3 separate regions of the Homo sapiens genome follow, and regions 1 and 3 are each linked to region 2. Evidence: promoter capture Hi-C in 16 types of primary human blood cells and fetal thymus (Javierre and others, 2016). All regions are on one chromosome and are shown on one strand. Each heading gives the region's core, a stretch centred on a gene start or on the middle of the fragment in contact. The rest is flanking DNA. Distances are from core to core; before and after follow the strand shown. Region 1 overlaps LRFN1 (leucine rich repeat and fibronectin type III domain containing 1). Region 2 holds the start of PAK4 (p21 (RAC1) activated kinase 4). Region 3 overlaps SAMD4B (sterile alpha motif domain containing 4B).

Region 1 (2,700 bases), core at 115-2,614, 180 kb before region 2:
CAGCGCTGCCGGCAACGCGAGTGGTGGGCTGTGTACAGTTCACCACCGCTGGGGATCCGGCGCCCTGCCGCCCGCTGAGGGCCCATTTCTTGGGCGGCACCATGATCATCGCCATCGGGGGCGTCATCGTCGCCTCGGTCCTCGTCTTCATCGTTCTGCTCATGATCCGCTATAAGGTGTATGGCGACGGGGACAGCCGCCGCGTCAAGGGCTCCAGGTCGCTCCCGCGGGTCAGCCACGTGTGCTCGCAGACCAACGGCGCAGGCACAGGCGCGGCACAGGCCCCGGCCCTGCCGGCCCAGGACCACTACGAGGCGCTGCGCGAGGTGGAGTCCCAGGCTGCCCCCGCCGTCGCCGTCGAGGCCAAGGCCATGGAGGCCGAGACGGCATCCGCGGAGCCGGAGGTGGTCCTTGGACGTTCTCTGGGCGGCTCGGCCACCTCGCTGTGCCTGCTGCCATCCGAGGAAACTTCCGGGGAGGAGTCTCGGGCCGCGGTGGGCCCTCGAAGGAGCCGATCCGGCGCCCTGGAGCCACCAACCTCGGCGCCCCCTACTCTAGCTCTAGTTCCTGGGGGAGCCGCGGCCCGGCCGAGGCCGCAGCAGCGCTATTCGTTCGACGGGGACTACGGGGCACTATTCCAGAGCCACAGTTACCCGCGCCGCGCCCGGCGGACAAAGCGCCACCGGTCCACGCCGCACCTGGACGGGGCTGGAGGGGGCGCGGCCGGGGAGGATGGAGACCTGGGGCTGGGCTCCGCCAGGGCGTGCCTGGCTTTCACCAGCACCGAGTGGATGCTGGAGAGTACCGTGTGAGCGGCGGGCGGGCGCCGGGACGCCTGGGTGCCGCAGACCAAACGCCCAGCCGCACGGACGCTGGGGCGGGACTGGGAGAAAGCGCAGCGCCAAGACATTGGACCAGAGTGGAGACGCGCCCTTGTCCCCGGGAGGGGGCGGGGCAGCCTCGGGCTGCGGCTCGAGGCCACGCCCCCGTGCCCAGGGCGGGGTTCGGGGACCGGCTGCCGGCCTCCCTTCCCCTATGGACTCCTCGACCCCCCTCCTACCCCTCCCCTCGCGCGCTCGCGGACCTCGCTGGAGCCGGTGCCTTACACAGCGAAGCGCGGGGAGGGGCAGGGCCCCCTGACACTGCAGCACTGAGACACGAGCCCCCTCCCCCAGCCCGTCACCCGGGGCCGGGGCGAGGGGCCCATTTCTTGTATCTGGCTGGACTAGATCCTATTCTGTCCCGCGGCGGCCTCCAAAGCCTCCCACCCCACCCCACGCACATTCCTGGTCCGGTCGGGTCTGGCTTGGGGTCCCCCTTTCTCTGTTTCCCTCGTTTGTCTCTATCCCGCCCTCTTGTCGTCTCTCTGTAGTGCCTGTCTTTCCCTATTTGCCTCTCCTTTCTCTCTGTCCTGTCGTCTCTTGTCCCTCGGCCCTCCCTGGTTTTGTCTAGTCTCCCTGTCTCTCCTGATTTCTTCTCTTTACTCATTCTCCCGGGCAGGTCCCACTGGAAGGACCAGACTCTCCCAAATAAATCCCCACACGAACAAAATCCAAAACCAAATCCCCCTCCCTACCGGAGCCGGGACCCTCCGCCGCAGCAGAATTAAACTTTTTTCTGTGTCTGAGGCCCTGCTGACCTGTGTGTGTGTCTGTATGTGTGTCCGCGTGTAGTGTGTGTGTGTGTGTGTGTGTGTGTGTGTGTGTGTGTGTGTTGGGGGAGGGTGACCTAGATTGCAGCATAAGGACTCTAAGTGAGACTGAAGGAAGATGGGAAGATGACTAACTGGGGCCGGAGGAGACTGGCAGACAGGCTTTTATCCTCTGAGAGACTTAGAGGTGGGGAATAATCACAAAAATAAAATGATCATAATAGCTAACGCTTAGTGAATACTTACTTACTATGTGCCAAGCACTTAAGTCATTTAATTCTCACAACACCAGGACATATCGGTATTATTATCCTGTTTTCCAGATGAGGGAATTTTGGCCCAGAAAAGTTAAATAACTGGCCCAAGGTGGTAAAACTGGGATTTAAAAAGGCAGGCAGGCCAACTTCTGAGTCTCTACTATAGGGGTGAAAAGACAGCTTCCCCTTCACTCTCTGAAATTTCACTGGAATGGGCTGACAATAGATTAACAAGAGAAAAGGAATATGGAGGGTATTTAACATGCACTAGGAAAATCACAGGAAAGTGATTACCCAATAACCCAGTGAGGTTTATATACTTATATACCTTTCTTCACAGGAGGGGAGATGGGGAAAGGAAGGCAATTTTGAGGGGTAATAAATGATTTTGGGGAAAATAAATGGGTCCAGGAGATAGAATTTAGCTTGTAAATGTCTCTGGAATTTGAGACTGACAGACAGATAATTTCTTGTGACAAAGTCCGTCCAGGTGTAGACATTTCTCTGTCTTTTTTTCCTGTTAAAGATAATGAAATGTCAGGGAGAGGACAGAAGGCACTTGTGTTCTTTTTGATCTTTAGGCAGATAAGAAGACATAGGAGGAAAGCCTCTTCCAGCATCTATGGATCTCTAAGTGCCTTTAATTTAAAATAATCAGCATACCAGGGTGCCATATTTTGGGGTGACATTCCCTGAACTCCTTTAATACTCAACTAGAGCACTGTACTGCTGAGCAGTTATTGAATATTCATTCCACCCTCTGAGACCTCACAACTCAGTGGGGTAGGGTAG
Region 2 (2,700 bases), core at 158-2,657:
CGCTCTGCCCAGGGTACCACCCAGGGACACTCTCCCCAGTCAGAAGCCCGTCGGACTCCCTTGCTCGGACTCCAGACCACCTACAAACACCCTACTCCCATAGGCTCACAGGAATCTTCCCTGCCAGATCACACCCTTCCAAGGAAACCAAGCAGACAATCCGATCCGCCCAGGGAGTGGCCCAGCCCTGCCCAGCCCCCTGCTTCCAGGAGAGACCTAATGGCTGGCAGCGGACAATGTGGCGACCAGGGGCAGGAGCCCTGGAATCACCCAGGCCCAGCTTCGATTCTAACTCTGCCTTCAGCAGAAGCTTCTGAGCCTCATTTTTCCCGTCTGTAAAGTAGGTTCATCTTGAGCACTCACTTCACAAGATTGCAGCAGGAGTGAAATACGACCGGGCACACAGGGCGTGGAGCACAGTGTGAGCCCTCATTAAACATTAACCGACATTATGATGATTTGAGAGGCGGTCGGCCAGAGCAGGGCTCTGGGCCAGAACTCCGGAGTTAGAATCCCAGCGCACAACTTATGCATCGGGTGACCTTGTGCAAATCACTTAACCTCTTAATACCAGGTTAAGACCCCCTAAGACTATAGTGAGGACTGAATAAGCTCATACAAGTAAAGCGTTAAAAAGAGGGTCTAGCCCATAGTGTTTCATGAGTGTTTGCCATTATTATTTGTGGGAGGGTTCCCCCTTCTCCTGTCACCAGGAAGCATCTCTGACCCGGCCCCCCCCCCCCCCCCCGTCCCCCGCAATACGCCCTCCTTGGGTTTTAATTTTTGACTCTGGGAAACAGCTGCCCCGCTGTCAGATTCTCACCTTTGTACCTTCTAGGCACGCCCCAGCTTTGAACCCCTAAAAGACGCCCCCGAACCTAAAACTCATTCATCTGCTCCGCTAGGGGCAGCTTTAAACCTCCAACCTGGCGCCCCTGGGGCTGTGACCTCTGACCCTCGTGGGGGCAGCCTTCCCTCAAATTATTAACTTTGACCCTGCCTTTTTTGAGACTCGCCCAGAACCCCTCGAACGCGCCCCCACTTCGAATTTCAAACTTTGCACTCCCCTTCGCCACGCCCCCTTCGCTGGTTTGATCTCCGACCTCCACTACAACTCCCTCCAGTCTGCGTTAACCCCCGACCCCTCGGACGCGACCCTTCCCTCCACCAGTGACCTTTGACCCCGGCGGCCCCGCCCCCCTCCTCGCGGAAACGCCGTCCCGCCGCCAGCGCCCGGCCCACCGCAAGCCCCTGGCCGGACCCCTTATCCTACCGGCTCGGCGCCGCAGTCGCTCGCGGCCTAACTGCTCGACCTGGAACTCCGCGCCCTCGCGCCTCCCTCAGCTCTCTTGCACCGCCACCACCGCGGACACTCCCGCCGCCATGTTGAATCCCCAACGAACATCCGGGGCTTTCCCCCCTCACCGCCCACCAGTCCCCATAGCAACGAGGCTGACCGGGCAGTGGGCAGGGCCAGTGCGGGGGCGGAGTCGGGCGCCTCTCAGGGCCCGCTCCAGCCTCCGATTGGTACAGAGCGTCCAATCGGAGACCTTCGGGCAGAAAATGCCAAGCGGGGATTGGAAATTTTGGAAAAGGTGCGGGAAGGCTGGCTCCCGGCCCACTGAGGTCCTTAAAGGGGAAATGACTGTTTTCGTGTGATACCGATTTTCTAACTTCCCCCCCAGAAGGAGTTAGGGGCTGGGAGAAAGTAATGAGTTAATGGGCAGAAACAGTTCTTAAGCACTTACTAGGAGGCAGGCACCGGGATAAGTGTTTTACTTGCATTTTCTCGCTGCATATACAACCCTGTGGTATAATATCATTAATACCCATTTTACAGATAAAGAAACAGAGGTTCAGAGGGTGAAATAGCTGGCTTAGCATCATAGAAAGAAGGTAATGAGTTTTGAACGCTGGTCTGTCTGAGCCCGGGAACCTGAGACTGTTTGCTCTTCAATTTTTAAATAAGTTTTTACGAAGTAATTGGTCAAAATATTGAAAACAAACAGCAGACATCTTCTTTAAAAATTTTTTTAAATTTTATTTTTACTTATTTATTTGTCTTGAGATAGAGTTTCGCTCTTGTTGCCCAGGCTGGAGTGCAATGGCGCGATCTCAGCTCACTGCAACCTCCGCCTCCCGGGTTCAAGAGATTCTCCTGCCTCAGCCTCCTGAGTAGCTGGAATTACAGGCGTCCACCACCACACCCAGCTAATTTTTTGTATTTTTAGTAGAGACAGCGTTTCACCATGTTGGCCAGGTCGAACTCCTGACCTCAGGTGATCTATCCGCCTCGGCCTCCCAGAGTGCTGGGATTACACGTGTGAGCCACCAAGCTGGCCTTTTTCTTTTATTTTTAAAGAGAGAGTTTTGTTGTGTTGGCCAGGCTGGTCTCGAACTCCTGGGCTCAAACTATACTCCTGCCTCGGCCTCCCAAAGTGCTGGGATTGCAGGCGTGAGCCACTGCGCCCGGCCAGACATCTCTCCTCCTGGATCTTATTCACTGGACTCCAGCCTTCATGCTGTTCCTGAACTCTTGTCAGGTGCGCTCTCACCTCACAGTCTTTGCACTGGTTGTTCCTCTGCCTGGAACATACTCTTCCCCCAGGTATCCTTATCTCTCCCTCCCTTTTTTCAGGGCTTTACACAGATGTCACTTTCTCTGTGAACTAATTCCCTCGCTCACCCTAAGGAAAGCAG
Region 3 (2,700 bases), core at 80-2,579, 220 kb before region 2:
ACATATATGAATATATTATCATTTTACAGATGGAGCAACTGAGGCACAGAGAAGTTAAGTCACTTTGCCCAAGACTGTACACCAAGCTGAGATTTTCAAGGCCAGGCAGTCTGGCTTCAGAGCTCTTGCTTGCTCTTAACAATGCAAGAAAGCTGGGCATGGTGGCTCACATCTGTAATCCCAGCACTTCGGGAGACTGAGGTGGGCAGATCGCTTGAGCCCAGGAGTTTGAGACCAGCCTGGGCAACAAGGTGAAAGTTGGGCCTAAGGGCCCTTTAATACCAACATCTCTGGATGAATAAGGGGATCCTATCTGCCTTCTTACCCATTCCTAGTTCTTTTTACAGCACGACCTAGGCCTTTGAGAACTTACACTTCATGAACAAGGTAACAGGCTAGTTACCTAGGGTTAACTCACTTTCATAACCTGAGAAGAGACTGTCAGAAGCCAAGGGAGCACAACTTCTCTTATAAGAATCAACCATTATTTCCAGAAACTCCTGAAATACGTACACAAAACATGTACACCACTGCATTAGCAAAGAATGAGCTTTTTGTATGAATGGTGCTGGGGAAGGGAGGGAGAGGAGAGGAGAAGCCAGGCAGGGCCTCCTGGAAGATAAGTACAGTATGGGGAGCTCCGGTAAACTCTGGAATAGAGAGGAAGCTAGCATTCTTCCTCCCACTCCTAAATGTCTTGACACCCCTTCCCCCCGAAAAGTTTATTCTCTGCTTCCTTTCCCTTCTTTACACTTGTTTTCTCTCACTTAGGCATGTAATTAACTCCTGTAGATTCAATCATCACCTCTCTGTGGACAACTGAGACATTTTTTTGAGTCATCTTTGACTTCTTCCATTTCCCAAAGACCCAGTCATTAGGTCTTGATATTTCTTTTTTCTTAATGTCAGCTACACATGCCTTGCTTATCTTTCCCCAAACCTAAGTGGCTCTAGAACCAGACTGCCGGGTTGGAAATATAAGCCTGCCACTTACTACCTGTGTAATTTTGGGCAAGTGATTTCACCTTGCCATGCCTGTTTTGTCATCTGTAATGTGGGTGTAATAATAGTACCTACTGAGAAGGAAGACAGAAAATAATAATAGTGCCTACTCTCATAGAGTTGTGAGGCATAAATGACTTGGCTATTATCATTATTCTAGATTCCTCTCTTTCTCTAATCCCATCATCAAGTCCTGTTTTCTGTACACCCAAAATATATCTGCTTCTCTACATCTTCACTACCACCACCACCACCACATTCATGTCACCATTTCTCATCTGGACAAATGGATTGTCTCCTAACTTTCCTTCCTGATTCTGTCCTGACCCTCTGTTTTCCTCCCAGAAACCAAAGTGAGCTTTCTAAAAAAATTAATCAGATCATGTCGCTGTCTTGCTTTTAAAAACTCCCTTCTAATAGTTTCCCAATCCCCTTAAATGAAAATAGAAACTCCTTACTGTGGCCCTTAGGCTGCAAGTAATCTGGCTTCTGTCAGCCTTTCCAACCCTCACCCCTCTCCCTCACTTAGGCTTTAGCCACACTGGTCCTTGCGATTCCCTGAACATATGGCAGGGCTTTTGCACCTGCTGACCTCTCTGCCTGAAATGCTCTTCCCCGGACCGTCACAAGGTTGGTTCCTTCTCATCAATCAGATCTGGGCTCACCTGTGCCCCATTCTGCCTCATCTGCCCAGTAGGAAGGAGTCTATGATATCATCATCAAGAGATGTTTCTTCAAAGGCTGCAGCTCTTCCAAAAACACCTAGACTGTAAGATCCATGAGAGAAGGGAAGACTGTAGCTATATTATTCATTGCTACATCTCCAATTCCTAGCATAGCACCTGGTACATAGCAGGCCCTCAATAAATATCTGTGATAAATTTCCCCACCTTGCAGAGGTCCTTTTTCTGCATGTAACAATGCTTAGATTAGAATGTTCCACTCCCAGATCTTCCCACAACTGGTGCCTTCTCATCTTTCTGGTTATCAGGCTCAACTGTCACCTCCCAAAAGAGGCCTCTTCTGATCCCCCTGTCTACTACAGTGGCCACTCCCACCCTCTCTTTCACACTGTTTTATTTCCTTCACAGCATGAATCACACTCTGATTTTTTTGTTTCCTCCCCCCATCAGAATATAAATTCCATGAATTTCAGGACCTTGAATGTTTTATTCACTGCTCTGTCTCCAGTACCTAGAATAGTGCCTCCATGCATTAATGAATGAGTGCAGGCTGGAGATATTTGAGACTTGCATACTCCATACACTGCTGTTCTGTAACTTGCCCTGAACCCGCTTCTATTCAACAAGTTTACACTAAAACAAACAAAACAAAACTCCACTCACAGCAATCCTACTTAACTCTCTTCCAAAGTTCTGTGTCTTGGAAACCTTAAACTGTGGTGAGGGTATTGCCATTACTCCTGGATTCTGCTCCCCTGAGGCCACCATCAAGCCAGGCTGATCACCTCATATCACCCGTGATATCCCAAAGCAAAGTGTGGTTGAGTCAGACCAGCCACAAGCTCTCTCTAGACCCAAACAATCACAGAGCAGAGAATGACTGCGGCTGGGGGACAGTGGGGAGGGAGATTGCCATCACTGCTCAGAAAGTTCATCGGATGGAATCACAGGCCTATTTGGCTCAGCAAGCCAGAGACTGAGTTGCAGGGTACAGAACCCAAAATATGTTTCTAAG

What was found. The method cuts DNA at HindIII sites, captures the fragments that hold promoters and counts their contacts. A CHiCAGO score of 5 or more calls a contact.
Region 1: a fragment that was not itself captured here is called in contact with the fragment with the promoter of PAK4 in region 2 in 16 of 17 cell types (megakaryocytes, erythroblasts, endothelial precursors and 13 more); the score reaches 14.3 in megakaryocytes.
Region 3: a fragment that was not itself captured here is called in contact with the fragment with the promoter of PAK4 in region 2 in 16 of 17 cell types (fetal thymus, naive CD4 T cells, total CD8 T cells and 13 more); the score reaches 10.9 in fetal thymus.

The regions. Positions count from the first base shown.
Region 1 is chr19:39,305,745-39,308,444 of GRCh38, reverse strand. It overlaps LRFN1 (leucine rich repeat and fibronectin type III domain containing 1), which reads left to right. Exons shown (of 5, transcript NM_020862.2): 5 at 1-1,879. The coding sequence ends at 812. Among named protein-coding and RNA genes, the nearest start is that of IFNL1, 11 kb to the right of the region's middle. RefSeq lists an enhancer at 117-618. The HindIII fragment of the contact is 8,108 bases long and covers 1-2,700 here.
Region 2 is chr19:39,124,493-39,127,192 of GRCh38, reverse strand. PAK4 (p21 (RAC1) activated kinase 4) reads right to left here and starts at 1,407. Exons shown (of 10, transcript NM_005884.5): 1 at 1,274-1,407. The HindIII fragment of the contact is 5,933 bases long and covers 313-2,700 here.
Region 3 is chr19:39,347,357-39,350,056 of GRCh38, reverse strand. All of the region lies in intron 1 of SAMD4B (sterile alpha motif domain containing 4B), which reads right to left. Among named protein-coding and RNA genes, the nearest start is that of SAMD4B, 6.3 kb to the right of the region's middle. The HindIII fragment of the contact is 3,053 bases long and covers 1-2,700 here.